Regions from separate parts of the Homo sapiens genome. Here regions 1, 2 and 4 are each linked to region 3. Evidence: promoter capture Hi-C in 16 types of primary human blood cells and fetal thymus (Javierre and others, 2016). All regions are on one chromosome and are shown on one strand. The core of a region is centred on a gene start or on the middle of the fragment in contact, and the rest is flanking DNA. Distances in the headings are between cores, read along the strand shown.

What was found. Contacts are between HindIII fragments. The CHiCAGO score rates a contact against its expected background, and 5 or more counts as called.
Region 1: a fragment that was not itself captured here is called in contact with the fragment with the promoter of CILP2 in region 3 in 1 of 17 cell types (non-activated CD4 T cells); the score reaches 5.4 in non-activated CD4 T cells.
Region 2: a contact is called between a fragment that was not itself captured here and the fragment with the promoter of CILP2 in region 3, in 1 of 17 cell types (non-activated CD4 T cells). The highest score is 5.4, in non-activated CD4 T cells.
Region 4: a contact is called between a fragment that was not itself captured here and the fragment with the promoter of CILP2 in region 3, in 3 of 17 cell types (non-activated CD4 T cells, total CD8 T cells and activated CD4 T cells). The highest score is 6.7, in non-activated CD4 T cells.

Annotation. Positions count from the first base shown.
Region 1 is chr19:19,859,546-19,862,827 of GRCh38, reverse strand. It overlaps LOC124904664 (a long non-coding RNA gene), which reads left to right. Exons shown (of 4, transcript XR_007067169.1): 3 at 1,512-1,765. Among named protein-coding and RNA genes, the nearest start is that of ZNF253, 4.7 kb to the left of the region's middle. RefSeq lists an enhancer at 1,389-1,939. The HindIII fragment of the contact is 2,566 bases long and covers 151-2,716 here.
Region 2 is chr19:19,909,863-19,912,952 of GRCh38, reverse strand. All of the region lies in intron 1 of ZNF93 (zinc finger protein 93), which reads right to left. Among named protein-coding and RNA genes, the nearest start is that of ZNF93, 10 kb to the right of the region's middle. The HindIII fragment of the contact is 1,625 bases long and covers 724-2,348 here.
Region 3 is chr19:19,536,584-19,540,087 of GRCh38, reverse strand. CILP2 (cartilage intermediate layer protein 2) reads right to left here and starts at 1,823. Exons shown (of 8, transcript NM_153221.2): 1 at 1,675-1,823; 2 at 311-409. The coding sequence starts at 1,738. It overlaps YJEFN3 (YjeF N-terminal domain containing 3), which reads right to left. Exons shown (of 7, transcript NM_198537.4): 7 at 2,507-2,769. The coding sequence ends at 2,564. RefSeq lists an enhancer at 1-485 and a silencer at 1,578-1,947. The HindIII fragment of the contact is 27,377 bases long and covers 1-3,504 here.
Region 4 is chr19:19,969,063-19,972,131 of GRCh38, reverse strand. It overlaps the pseudogene BNIP3P12. Among named protein-coding and RNA genes, the nearest start is that of ZNF682, 69 kb to the left of the region's middle. The HindIII fragment of the contact is 1,649 bases long and covers 894-2,542 here.

The sequences.
Region 1 (3,282 bases), core at 184-2,683, 320 kb before region 3:
CCTGGATCTATGCTCCATACGGGATGGGCCAGTAGAACTGCAAGTAACTGTCCTAGATCAACATGCTAATTGGAGCGTTAGGCAGAAACAAGATGGGAAGAGGTACATTTCAGGTTTTGGACCCAGAAACTGTCATAGGCCGGCAAAGCTTATACCTCTTTCTAGAAGCAATTGTTAGCTTCCTATAGGGCTTTGCTGGAAACAGAACACCTCTGCTTCAACCATGATGTCTTTATGAGGCCTGAAATTCCTATTATGACTTGGGTCATGAGTTCCCCCAAAACTCACCAGATGGGGCATGACAAGGGGGAGAACTGGGATATAGGAAGTCCTTGAGTTTCCAGCCCTGGGATCCAGAGTCAGACACCACACTCCCCAGACTGTGGAGGATTCACCACCAGACCAGGAAGCCACAGCCTGGGCTTCAGAGTCGGCCACTCGTCCACGCACAGACGAGGAGAGGTCTCATGAAACTTCGGCGCCATCTGGGATCCCAGCTCTTTTATTTGGCATAAAGCCCAGTCACGAGGGCCCTTAGTGACTGGGCTCAAGGAACACAAAAAGGTCAACTTGTTTTTGTGATTGTCTATCGTTTTTCAATAAGTAAAGTATAGGAATAGATGGAAATAGAGATTTCTCCAAAACAGCACTGGATGAATGCATCAAAGGTCTCACACAACCTCTTCCTGGACTTGGTGATCATTGTTTGTGTCCACGTTCAATTGAGTTCAAATTTAATATTTAACTTTTCCTCCACAAATTCCCCTGTCTTGATGAATCAGCTCTGTCTAGGCAAAGGGCAAGGTGAACCCCTTGGGCCTTACACAACCTCTGCCTCCTGGGTTCAAGCGATTCTTCTGCCTCGGCCTCTGTAGTAGCTGGGACCACAGGTGTGCACCAGCATGCCCGGCTAAATTTTTGTATTTTTAGTAGAGATGGGGTTTCACCATATTGGCCAGGCTGGTCTTTAACTCCTGACCTCAAGTAGTCTGCCCACCTTGGCCTCTCAAAGTGCTGGGATTAGAGGCGTGAGCCACAGTCCCTGTCCCTAAATGCTTTCTATCTCCTATAGCAGTTTGAAATTACTTAAAGGTTGTTTCAAATTGAAAAAATAAAAGGAATGTAGATATAAGTAAAATATAAATAGTTTAAAAATTACAAGAGATTACAAAATATATATGCAAATCTCGAAAGGTCAAAAATGACAAATTTGATTTGTTTATAAGGTTTTATTAAAATTAGCTTTAGTATTGATAATACACTATTACCAAAGTAAAAGTTGATTTTCTCTTGAACAAAAATTTTACGTATTATTAATATAACAGCAAAGTACTTCCGTTCACCTTTCGAATACATTCAAAAAGAGAGAGCAAAAAAGAGATAGAATTTTCCCATGCTCTGGGGTGGGCCTGGCTCAGCTCTGGGAGAAAGCCCTGCCTGAAAAAGATGCAGCTTAGGCTGTGACTCTTTCATTGCTCAGCGCAGCATCTTATCACATCTTCTCTCACTAGGTCCTGAAGGGGCGAGGCCTTAAGCATTATCCAATCAGGGACACTGGGCTGGAAACCGTCCAATCAGACACCCAGCTGGAGCGAACAGGTCGACTTCCGAGTTTGGCGGGGCCTTTGTCTCTCACTGCACCTGGAGCTCCAGGTCTCATCTTCACTACTCTGTGTCCTCTGCTGCTGGAGGCCCAGCCCTGTGACCTGACGGTTTTGGGAGATCCACAGCTAAGACGCCAGGACCTCCTGGAAGCCTAGAAATGGTGAGTGCCGTCGGACATCACGAGAGCAGGGGAGGAACTGGTTGGAACCGGTGGGAAGTGGCTGTGGCGGGACTCAGGCCTCCCCGCAGTCAGCTCCGCAATCTGCGCCCCAAGTTCTCCTTGCCCAGCTCGGCCTCAGTCCCTTTCAGCCGTAAGATGGAGGCTGCGCTCACACCCGGGCCCCCCGGCGTCCTGTCTCTTCCCCTCGCAGTGACTGTGCCCTGGCCTGGAGCCCTCTCCGGGCAGCTCTGCACCCACAGCGCCACGTGTCTCCCAGATCGTGCAGGGACCACGGGAGGGTCCTCAGGGGAGAATCCTGACTCAGGATGCAAGTTCATGAATGGGAAGAGCTTTGGTGCTTGGTCTTCACAGTTTCCCTTTTCTCCTATTAAAAATGTATGGGCCCTTGCGCGGTGGCTCACGCCTGGAATCCTAGCACTTTGGGAGGCCGAGGCGGGCGGATCACTTGAGGTCAGGAGTTGAAGACGAGCCTGGTCAAAATGAGGAAACCCCATCTCTACTAAAAATACAAAAATTAGCTGGGTGTGATGGCGAATGTCTGTAATCCCAGCTACTTGGAAGGCAGAGGTGACAGAATCGCTTGAACCCAAGAGGCAGAGGTTGCAGGGGCTGATATCTTACCACTGCACTCCAGCCTGGGCGACAGAGCAAAACTCTGTCTAAAAAAAAAAAATATGAGAGTCGCCGCAAAAATATCAAATAATTTAATTAAAGAGTGATTCAAGAATTGTTGAGCACCCAGCTATAGTTTGTACTTTATGGTCCATGGTAGGGGCTTGAAGGAAAGACATTTATAAGGTGCATGATGAAGAAAACCATATTCAATCGTTGGTTAGGTATAGTTACGTAGTTTCTTATTTTGTACAATCGAGGTGGAAATGTCCTAGTTATGATTCAGAGCTTAATTGGCAGTTTATAGTTGTGTAAGCTTGAATTTTATTTCCCTTAATATAGTAATTTAACAAAAAGTGCAATTAATTATTTTCACACCTCACAGGGAACTGATTTTTCCCTGGCATTTTTCACATGTGTCCCAAGCAGGGCCTCAAGTGTACCCCATGTTCCTCAATTAATCATTCTTTAAAAAGCATGGCATAACACTATTGAAAATATTTGTTTTCTGTTTGTAAATATTTCCCAGGAGAAGAAAGCAAAGAATAATCCCCTGACACTGTATTGTAAAAAATATTTGTGTCTTTTTCTTTTTTCTTTTTTTTGTTTTGCTTTTTGAGACAGAGTTTTCGCTCTGTTGCCAGACTGGAGTGAGGTCCTACAGTTGTGCAGCCGCGCGATCTGGGCTCACTGCAACCTCCACCTCCCGGGTTCAAGCAATTATCCTGCCTCAGCCTCCTGAGTAGCTGGAACTACAGTCATGTGCCACCATGCCCAGCTAGAGAGGTTTCACCATGTTGGCCAGGATGGCCTGGATCTCTTGACCTCGTGATCCGCCCGCCTCTGCGTTCCAAAGTGCTGGGATTACAGGTGTGAGCCACCGT
Region 2 (3,090 bases), core at 287-2,786, 370 kb before region 3:
AAGACAGCAATATCTGAATAAGTCTGTATTTTAAAAAGAACATGTACACAGGTACTAATGCAATGTTTATTAAGCAGGCACTATGTGCTAGAGTATGATACAGAGCACGGTGCTGGGCATAACACATTATATGATTTAATTCTCTTAACACCCGGGGAGCTGGTACTAAGTGTTTCTTAATTTTCAGGATTTAGATAAAGGGCCCATTTTTATTTTTTCTTCTGTTTCTCTGTCATCAAATTTTTTAAAAAATTGTATAGAATAAAAGCTAAATATAGACAGATGAAAGAGATACAGAAGAGTTTAATGTAGTCTAGAGAAAATTTCATTCTGTTTATATTTACTTTTTTGACTTGTGCAGCAACTACTGGATCTGCAGGAATAGAAAACAAGTTGCTAAATACAATGTCTCTGCAAGCACTGGTTTTAATAAAAAATTTAAAAACAAACACCTTACAAAACATACTTTTTTTCCCGATTTATCTGCTTTTGAATTTCAGGAAATTGTGAGCACCAGCTCTAGAAAGGCAGCAGGATTCAGCAGCCAAAACTCTGATCTCCTTTAATGAGTTCTGTGAGGCAATACTCCAGGGTAGGTTCAGACCTAACTAAGGTCTCCAAAAAGGATGAATCTGAACACGTCTGGGGCAGGGTGAGAACCCTATGTAGAATTCTGTTCTCTATGCAACTAGGAAACTTCCAGTTTTGTTTTGTTTCTAAGCTTACCTAAAAGAAACTTAAATCCCAGAGTTTCTGTAGTTTTTATCTTTTCTAGTCACTGCCCTGACAACTTTATACTATATACTAGTATGCAACTTAAACAAATCCCTTAAGGTTTTCTAGGGTAATTTTATTAGAAAATAAATATCTACAGTTAGCAAGGTAAAAGAAATAGAAAATATACGGCCAAGCGCGGTGGGTCATGCTTGTAATCTCAAGACTTTGGGAGACCAAGGCGGGTGCAGAACGAGGTCAAGCAGTTAAAGACCAGCCTGATCCAGATGATGAAACCCCGCCTCTAGTAAAAATACAAAAATTAGCTAGGTGCAGTGGCAGGCAACTGTAATCCCAGCTACTCGGGAGGCTGAGAAGGGAAAGTCACCTGAACCCGGGCGGCAGAGTTTACAGTGAGCCGAGATCGTGCCACTGCAAGCCAGACCAGGTGACAGAGTGAAACACCATCTCAAAAAAAAAAAAGAATTTATAACAATTATTTTGTTCATAAATCTCCCTTCAGGTGTAGACATCAGAAGTCACAACAATATAAAGAAAGTGGTCTAAAGCCCAAGATTTTTAACACATCTATTTATTATACCAACCATATGATGCACACTTCAATTACTTATCCAGTAGCTAGTCTAGACTAAAAGTTTCTGGATTGTAGGAACTATGACTGCTTCATGTATTTTTTTAATGCCCATATGAAGTGGAAGGAGCTAGTTTATCTATCTGGGTCTCCAGATCTTCTCCTTATTATCCAAGTACCAGGAAACTGGAGAAGCTGTCATCGGGGTACCAACCAAAGATATCTCTTGTATGAGGGAATGAACAAACACAGGATGACTCATTTCTCTTACACTGAGACAGAAGCAGAATTAACCACTCTTGTCAGCCTGACAAAATTCTGCTCTGGACATCCTCAAATGCCTCAAAGACACCTGGGTGATTGTGAGAGATTCCCAGTGACCCAGGCCTCATGGCCCAATGATAAGCCAGGCTGGAGAGACTCAGGCTAACTCTGAATAGAAAATGGAACTGCCCTGGTGGAGCTCCAGAACCTGGATCACCCATTCTGATTTGCTAGCTCTTGGGTAAGAGAAAGATCAAAAATACTCTACTCTAGTATTACATTTTACAGCTAAATATAATTGTGGTCATGGCTCTGGATACTTTGTGGCCCCGATCTCTCACTCCTAAGATGCTTATTTACACTTACAGATTCTGCCATCTGAGTCTATTTCTCCTGGAGCCCCTCACATAACTGTAGCAGGTCAATGAACAAGATGTGAAAATCTCAAAGAGCCACACTCCCAAATGGGGGCTGTAAGATGTCTATGTTTACATTCACAATGCAGAAAATGACTTTTGTTCATTTTCTGTACATTCTCAATCCAAGTTCTGGTCCTTTCTTGTAAATCCCAGGCAGAGGCCAGACCTTATCTGCAGATTCCAGGTAGGATCCACCTGGCTCTGCATCCTTTGGTGTTACAGCAAGTGGAATACAATCAAAGGAGAGATCCCCTCATAGAGACTACTCTAGCACATTCTAAATGGTAAGTCTACATGAAAAAAAAAAAAAAAAGCTGAAAGAACATGAATATAAGTAGATAGTTTACTTGGGTCAAGCTTAAGGATTATAACCTGGGAGCAAAGATTCAAGTTGCCTGGAATCTGCATTTTGATTACCAGCAGTTACAAGACAATTTGTAAAGACAACAAGACAGGGACAGAGAGTGGGCTGATACAAAGTTGATTGTCAGAAATTTTTATTTATTTACAGAAATAACATCGATTATTGATTACATATATATTATTATGGTTTAGGGTATGGGATATAGTGTCTAATGTGGCATTATTAGTTTAATTTATAATTACTTGTGGCAATAGTGAACAGTTTCAAGAGATGAATACATAGTTCAAAGGGGGGAGAAAGACATAACAGTACTTTCATTTTAATGTCTGAGTTTGATAACCAAAGGGACTTGCATTTCTTAGGTAAGTTTTTTTTTCCCCCAAATCTCAAGACCTGGATTCAAAATTTGGAGCTTCAAGTTTAGGGCCTGAACGACTGGAGTAGCCACAGGTGTTTACCTGTACATTTGTGAGCATTTAGCAAGAGGAGGAAGGGGAAAGTGGAGATTCTCATGTCTCTATGTCTACTCAGCACACACATGTTACTCTGATTGGGTTTCTGGGCTCCATAGTTTCTGAATCAGTTTCAAATCTGAAGATACAAGAGTCACTGAAAAAGGTTAAATGATTAATTAATTGCTGCCCTGTGAAGTTTGTAGAAATTGGGTCTAGCCTCTCTAGAAGTGACAGTAGAGGAACTATCAATACCAAATAGGCAGAGACAAAATTCCACGTGCA
Region 3 (3,504 bases), core at 574-3,073:
CGCGCCCACGACCCGAGCCAGCGGCCTGAAACAGGTGCAGGGCAGACTGGGTTCCCCGCGACCCCAGTTCTGCCGCCCAGGGCCTGACCTGGTCCATCCCGGTGCGCTGAGCTCTTGCCTCTGTCTGACCGGCCTCTCACTTAGATCTTGAACTTGGGGCATCACCTCCAGGGGCTGTCATGTCCGGGGACCAGGACGGCGCCGGGCCCTTCGTCTAGTGTGTGCCCTCTCCTCACACGACCCCAGTAGCCCAAGCCCCACCCCCAACAAGCCCGCAGCAGAGACGGGACTCCGAGGCAGGCTAACTCACCTTCCCAGTCCTCCAGGGCTGGTGAGGGCTGGCCGGTGTACACGGACCGTCTTTCCAGGCCCAGTGCAGTCGCCATTGGCTCCTCGGTGGGGGTGGCGTCTGTGGGTGAGGAGTGGGGAGAAGGAAGCACGCTGCTACTGATGGGGACCGCTGGGAGCCTCCTTTTAGGCAAGGTGCAGCCACGATCATCCCCCCCCTTTTTTTTTTTTTTTTTGAGACGGAATCTCCCTCTGTCACCCAGGCTGGAGTGCAGTGGCACGATCTCGGCTCACTGCAGCCTCTGCCTCCTGGGTTCAAGTGATTCTCACACCTCAGCCTCCTGAGTAGCTGGGATTACAGGCACGCTCCACCAGGCCTAGCTAATTTTTATATTTTTAGTAGAGACGGGGTTTCACCATGTTGGCCAGGTTGGTCTCAAACTCCTGACCTCAGGTAGTCCGCCCGCCTCGGCCTCCCAAAGTGCTGGGATTACAGGCGTGAGCCACCGTGCTTGGCCCATGATCCCCATTTTAACAGGAGGGAAAATTGAGGCTCTGAGAGGCCAGAACCCAGCTCTAGCCCCAAGGGCTGCCATACACTCTCCTCCAGCGCGCTGCCCATGACCACCACCAGGCCCCCAAAGCCAGGTACCTCTCTCTGACCTAGCCCTAACCCCCCGGCTGGGGAAGTGCAAGTACCACCCAGTTCCCCTAGGCTAGAGTCTCCCTCCCACTATGTTCAGCTGCCGCGAGATCAATCAAGTTCAGCTGGCTGTGCCTCTGCCCTCAGGCTGGGCTCCCCCTCATCCACTTGGCCTGCTGGAAGCCCCTCCCTTAGTCTGTCTTCCATCCCTGTACTACAGTCCGAGCTGCCGGGAAGTCCTTGGAATCTAGACTGGCTTCTCCAAGATAGGAGCTGTCCAAGATACTCCCAGCAGAGTGATGAGGTCAGACAAGCCCCTTCCTTCTGGGTGCCTCAGTCTCCTCACTTGAGAAGTGGGCCCGTCCCCCGCCCCATTGAGTGTTCCAGGGATGGGCATTTCTTTCTCCAGCGGTTGGAGTGAGTGCGTGTGTGGGAGTTAGGTGGGAGGGGCCAGTTCCGACCCCTTCGGTCCAGGGTGGGAGACCTGGCCGGTGATTCAGAGTCCAAACCCCGGGAGGAACCCTAGGTTCTTATCCACACTCCCGGCTTAGCCAAGGAAGAGAATGGATGAGGCCCGCTCCGCGCCCCAGGTGGTCGCGGGGATCCGACTGGTGAAGGGGACCCAGTCCCCGGGGAAGCGCGTGGGTCCCTGGGTTCTCTCCCCGAGTGCGGCTTCACCCAAGGCCGGCTGCCAGGCCCTCGGGAGCCTCAGGGGCTGGGCGCGGGGGCTGGAGGCGCCTCACCTCGGGCCCCCGCCAGGTGCGCAGCGACGACACAGAGACAGAGCAGTGGCAGCAGCGACGCCATGGCCGGGGCAGAGCGTCCGAGGGAGGGTCCGGGCTCCGCGGCGTGCTCGGGTCCAACTCCGGCGGGTCTGGCGGCCGCTGGGACTGAGAGTGGGGGCGGGATGCGACCGCAGATCCCGCCCTGGCCACGCCCCATTCAGGCCACGCCCCCTGGCCCTGGGTGACGGCGCTCGAGCAACCCCTCTGGGTCGCCCCCCTTGGTGCGTCTGGCTGTGCCTCCGTCCTCAGGCTGTCCTGGGTTCCCCGTGGCCTGCTGGAACTCCCTCCCCGAGCCCACTCAGTCCTCCAAGCTGCATCCCAAGCTGCCTGAGGGAAGTGTCACTTGGAATCCAGCCTCAAGCTGCTCGGACCCGCTTTAGGTGGCTGGAAGTCCTGTCTCGCGTCTCACTTCGATCCTATAGGCTTTAGGCCACCCCAAACAGTCTGGGAGTCCCACCCTGAATCTACCCTCCATTCTTCTGGCTCGAGTTTTCTTTCTTCTTTTTCTTTTAATTTGTAGAGTCGGGATCTTGCTATGTTGCCCAGGCTGGTCCCAAACTCCTGGCCTTAAGCGATCCTCCAGCCTCAGCCTCCCAAAGTGCTGAGATTACAGGCAGGAGCCACCGCCCCCAGCCCTAGCTGAAGTTTTCTAGGCCAGCGGGAAGTCCCACTCCACCGCCCTTCTCATGCTCCCCGCCTTGGATCACCCAGGGACCGTGTGAAGTCCCTCTTCGAGTGTGCCCACCCCCGCAGCGGGCCCGGTGCACAAAGGAGGCGGAGGCGAGGCGGCGGTGGTGGGAGGGCTGTTTATTGGCGAGGGTCCCTGCGGTGTGGCCGCGGGTGGCGGTCACAGTGCCGCGACGCAGTCGGTGCCCGTGTATCCCGGCAGGCGCAGAGCGAACTTGCGGCGCACGTCATCGGGCACGAACCTGCCGGCCACGAAGTGGTGGCGCCCGGAGAAGCGGCCAGCGCAGCGCTTGGGCGCCGCGAGAGACACCAGCACGTCAGGCCGCAGCCCGTCCTCCGAATCGCTGCCGGTCTCTGCGTCCCAGCCTGAGGGAGGAGGGTCCGGGGGGATTGGGAACTGGGAGGGTGGCCTGCCCTCAGCCTAGAGTCCATCCTGTCCCTGCCTCCTCTCCTCTCCCCTCCAACACTGAGCCTCTGCCCTCAGACCAGAGTCCTGCTGCCCCACCCCCACTTCCCCTCCCCCATCAGACCCAGCCTTTTCTCTCTGGCACATGGGTCCTGGTGAGACTTGTCGCCCCCTAGAACTCTGCCTCCGCCCTCAGACAAGTCTCTCCCAGTCCTTGGAGGTGTTTCCCTCCCAATCAGACCAGAGCTTCTGCACTCAGACTTTCTGCTTCTGCTCCTATCCTACTATTCAATCGCCCTCCTCCATCTGACCCAGCCTCTGTCTTCAGTCACCCAGGCTGGAGTGCAATGGTGCAATCTCGGCTCACTGCAACCTCTGCCACACGGGTTCAAGCAATTCTCCTGTCTCAGCCTCCCGAGTAGCTGGGACTACAGGCACACGCCACCATGCCTGGCTAATTTTTGTATATTTAGTAGAGATGGAGTTTCACCATATTGGCCAGGCTGGTCTCGAACTCCTGACCTTGTGATCTGCCCACCTCGGCCTCCCAAAGTGCTAGGATTATGGGTGTGAGCCATTGCGCCCAGCCTGTTTGTTTTTAAGATACAGTCTCTCTCTATTGCCCAGGCTGGAGTGCAGTGGCACGATCTCAGCTCACAGCAACCTCTGCCTCCCGGGTTCAAGCGATTCTCCTG
Region 4 (3,069 bases), core at 469-2,968, 430 kb before region 3:
AGTGGCTTGCCACTGCAACCTCTGCGAGACAACTGAAAAACAGAAAGTGCCAAAAGTGTAAGAGACGGAACATTCACCTCTAAACACACATACTCAAAACCTGAAAATCCAGATCACCAGAGAAGCATTTAACCTCACCTAGAGCCGAAATGAACTTAGAGAGCCAAGCAAAATATAAAAGTAGAAGAAGCAGTGGGAAGAGCCCTACAGGCACTCTTGGTCCTCAGGGAAGCCGTTTCTGACTTTATCTCACAGGGGTCCTTGGGACGGGCTGCCAGTGGAATTGGGGAAGAACCACAGGGAGAAGGAAACTGCCAGCTAAACTTTGTAATAGTTTTGACCTAGTGTGAATTTTCCTTGGCAGAATCGGTGAGGGGACAGTGAATGGGAAGCACAGATATGGGCACAGAATCCATGGCAGGTGGTGAGGGGTGGGGCCTGAAAGCCCAGGTTGCTTTCTCAATGGGGAGGCTTATAGCCTGGGGCAAGATCTCAGTACTGCTCACCAACTGGATATAAACTTGATGCTGTTGGTGGGTAGGGTGTGAGTGAAACTGGCCTTGCTGGCTTCATGGGAGCTGAGTGAGGCCTGTCACTGCTGGCTTTCCTTCACTTCCATCCTGACCTATATGATACAGCAGAGGCAGCCATAATCCCCCTGGAAACATAACTCCATTGGCCTGAGAACCATACTCCCAACCCCACAGCAGCTGCAGCAAGCCCCACCCAAGGAGGGTCTGAGCTCAGACATGTCCAACCCTGCCCTCACCTGATGGTCTTACTCTACCCACCCTGGTAGCTGAGGACAAAAGACATACTCTCTTGGGAGCTCTATGTTCCCACTCATTGCCTGAAAAACATGAATACTTATCCAGGTGACCTGGTGGCAAGCTTGCATACCCCCATATTACCACAGCTGATGCTGTCTTAAAGCTGCCACCTCCAGGTTGGAGGCCAACCAACTCAAGCCCTTACAGTAACTCACAAAATAATGACCCCTGCCAGGTGGGGTGGCTCACACCCATAATCACAGCACTATGGGAGGCTGAGGTGGGTGGATCACCTGAGGTCAGGAGTTTGAGACCAGCCTGACAAAAATGGAGAAACCCCCTCGCTACTAAAAATGTAAAATTAACCAGGCATGGTGGAACATGCCTGTAATCCCAGCTACTCAGGAGGCTGAGGCAGGAGAATCACTTGAACCCAGGAGGCCAAGGTTGCAGTGAGCCAAGGTCGTGCCACTGCACTCCAGCCTGGGCAACAAGAGTGAAACTCCATCTCAAAAAAAAAAAAAAAAAAAACCCACTCCAATAAAGGAGAAAACAACAGCTAATTCCACCTGTAACATTGTAACATCCTGGCTACACAGAAGTCTTCAGTCTGTCCATGTGACAACTTCACTGCTAGAACAACCTGCATTCAAAAAAACCAGTGCACTAAACTGAATTACAACCAAGGACCCTCACAGAGTCCACTTTAGTCCCCTGCTACCTCTACCAGAGCAGGTGGTATTATCCATGGCTGAGAAACCTGAAGACAGATCACATCACAGGACTCTTTGCAGATACTCCCCAGTACCAGCCCAGAGACCAGTAGCTCCACTGGGTGGTTAAACCCAGAAGAGCAATAACAATCCCTGCAGTCTGACTCTCAGGAAGCCCCATCCCAAGGGAAAAGGGGAGACCATCACATCAAGGGATCACCCCATGAAACAAAAGAATCTGAACAGCAGCCTAGAGCCTCAGGTCTTACTTCTGACATAGACTACCCAAATGAGAAGGAACCAAAACAAAATTCTGGTAATATAAAAAAGCAATAATTTTTTTTTTTTTTTTTTTTTTTTGGTTACAGAGCCTCACTCTGTCGCCCAGGCTGGAGTGCAGTGGCATGATCTCGGCTCACTGCAAGCTCCGCCTCCCAGGTTCATGCCGTTCTCCTTCCTCAGCCTCCCAAGCAGCTGGAACTACAGGTACCCACCACAACACCTGGCTAGCTTTTTGTTTTTTTAGTAGATATGGGGTTTCACCGTGATAGCCAGGATGGTCTCGATCTCCTGACCTCATGTTCCACCCGCCTCAGCCTCCCAAAGTGCTGGGATTACAGCTGTGAGCCACCATGCTTGGCCAAAAGCAAGAATTTTTTTTAACACCTTCAAAGGACCACACAAGCTCACTAGCAGTGGATCCAAACCAAGAAAAAAATCCCTGAATTGCCAGAGAAAGAATTCATAAATTCCATTATTAAGCCACTTAAAGAGACACTACAGAAAGGTGAATACTAACTTAATGAAATTTTTAAAAAATACAGGATATGGATGAAAAAAATCTCCAGAGAAATAGATAGCATAAATAGAAAACAACCATGACTTCTGGAAATGAAAGGCACACTTAAAGAAATGCAAATTATAGTGGGAAATTACAACAATAGAACCAAACAAGTAGAAGAAAGAACTTCAGACCTCAAAGACAAGACTTTTGAATATTCCAATCTAACAAAGACAAACAAAAAAGAATTTAAAAATGAGCTAAGCCTCCAAGAAGCTTGGAATTATGTTAAACAATAAAATCTAACAATAATTGGTGTTCCCAAGGTAGAGGAGAAATCTAAAAGTTTGGAAAACTTATTTGAGGGAATAATTGAGAAAAACTTTCCTGGCCTTGCTAGAGATCTAGACATGCAAATACAAGAAGTTCAAAGAACACCAAGGAAATTCATCACAAAAAGATCATCACCTAGGCGCATAGTCACCAGGTTATCTGAAGTCAATATGAAGAAGAGATTTTTAAGAGCTGTGAGACAAAAGCATCAGATAACCTATAAAGAAAGACATATCAGATTAACAGCAGATTTCTCAGCAGAAACCCTACAAGCTAGAAGCGATTGGGGTCCTCTGTCTAGCCTCCTTAAACAGAACAAGTATCAGCCAAAAATTTTGTATCCAGTGAAACTAAGCTTCATAAATGAAGGAAAGATACAGTCTTTTTCAGACAAACAAATGCTTAGAGAATTCACCACTACCAAGCCACTACTGTAAGAACTGCTAAAAGGAGTTCTAAATCTTGAAACAAA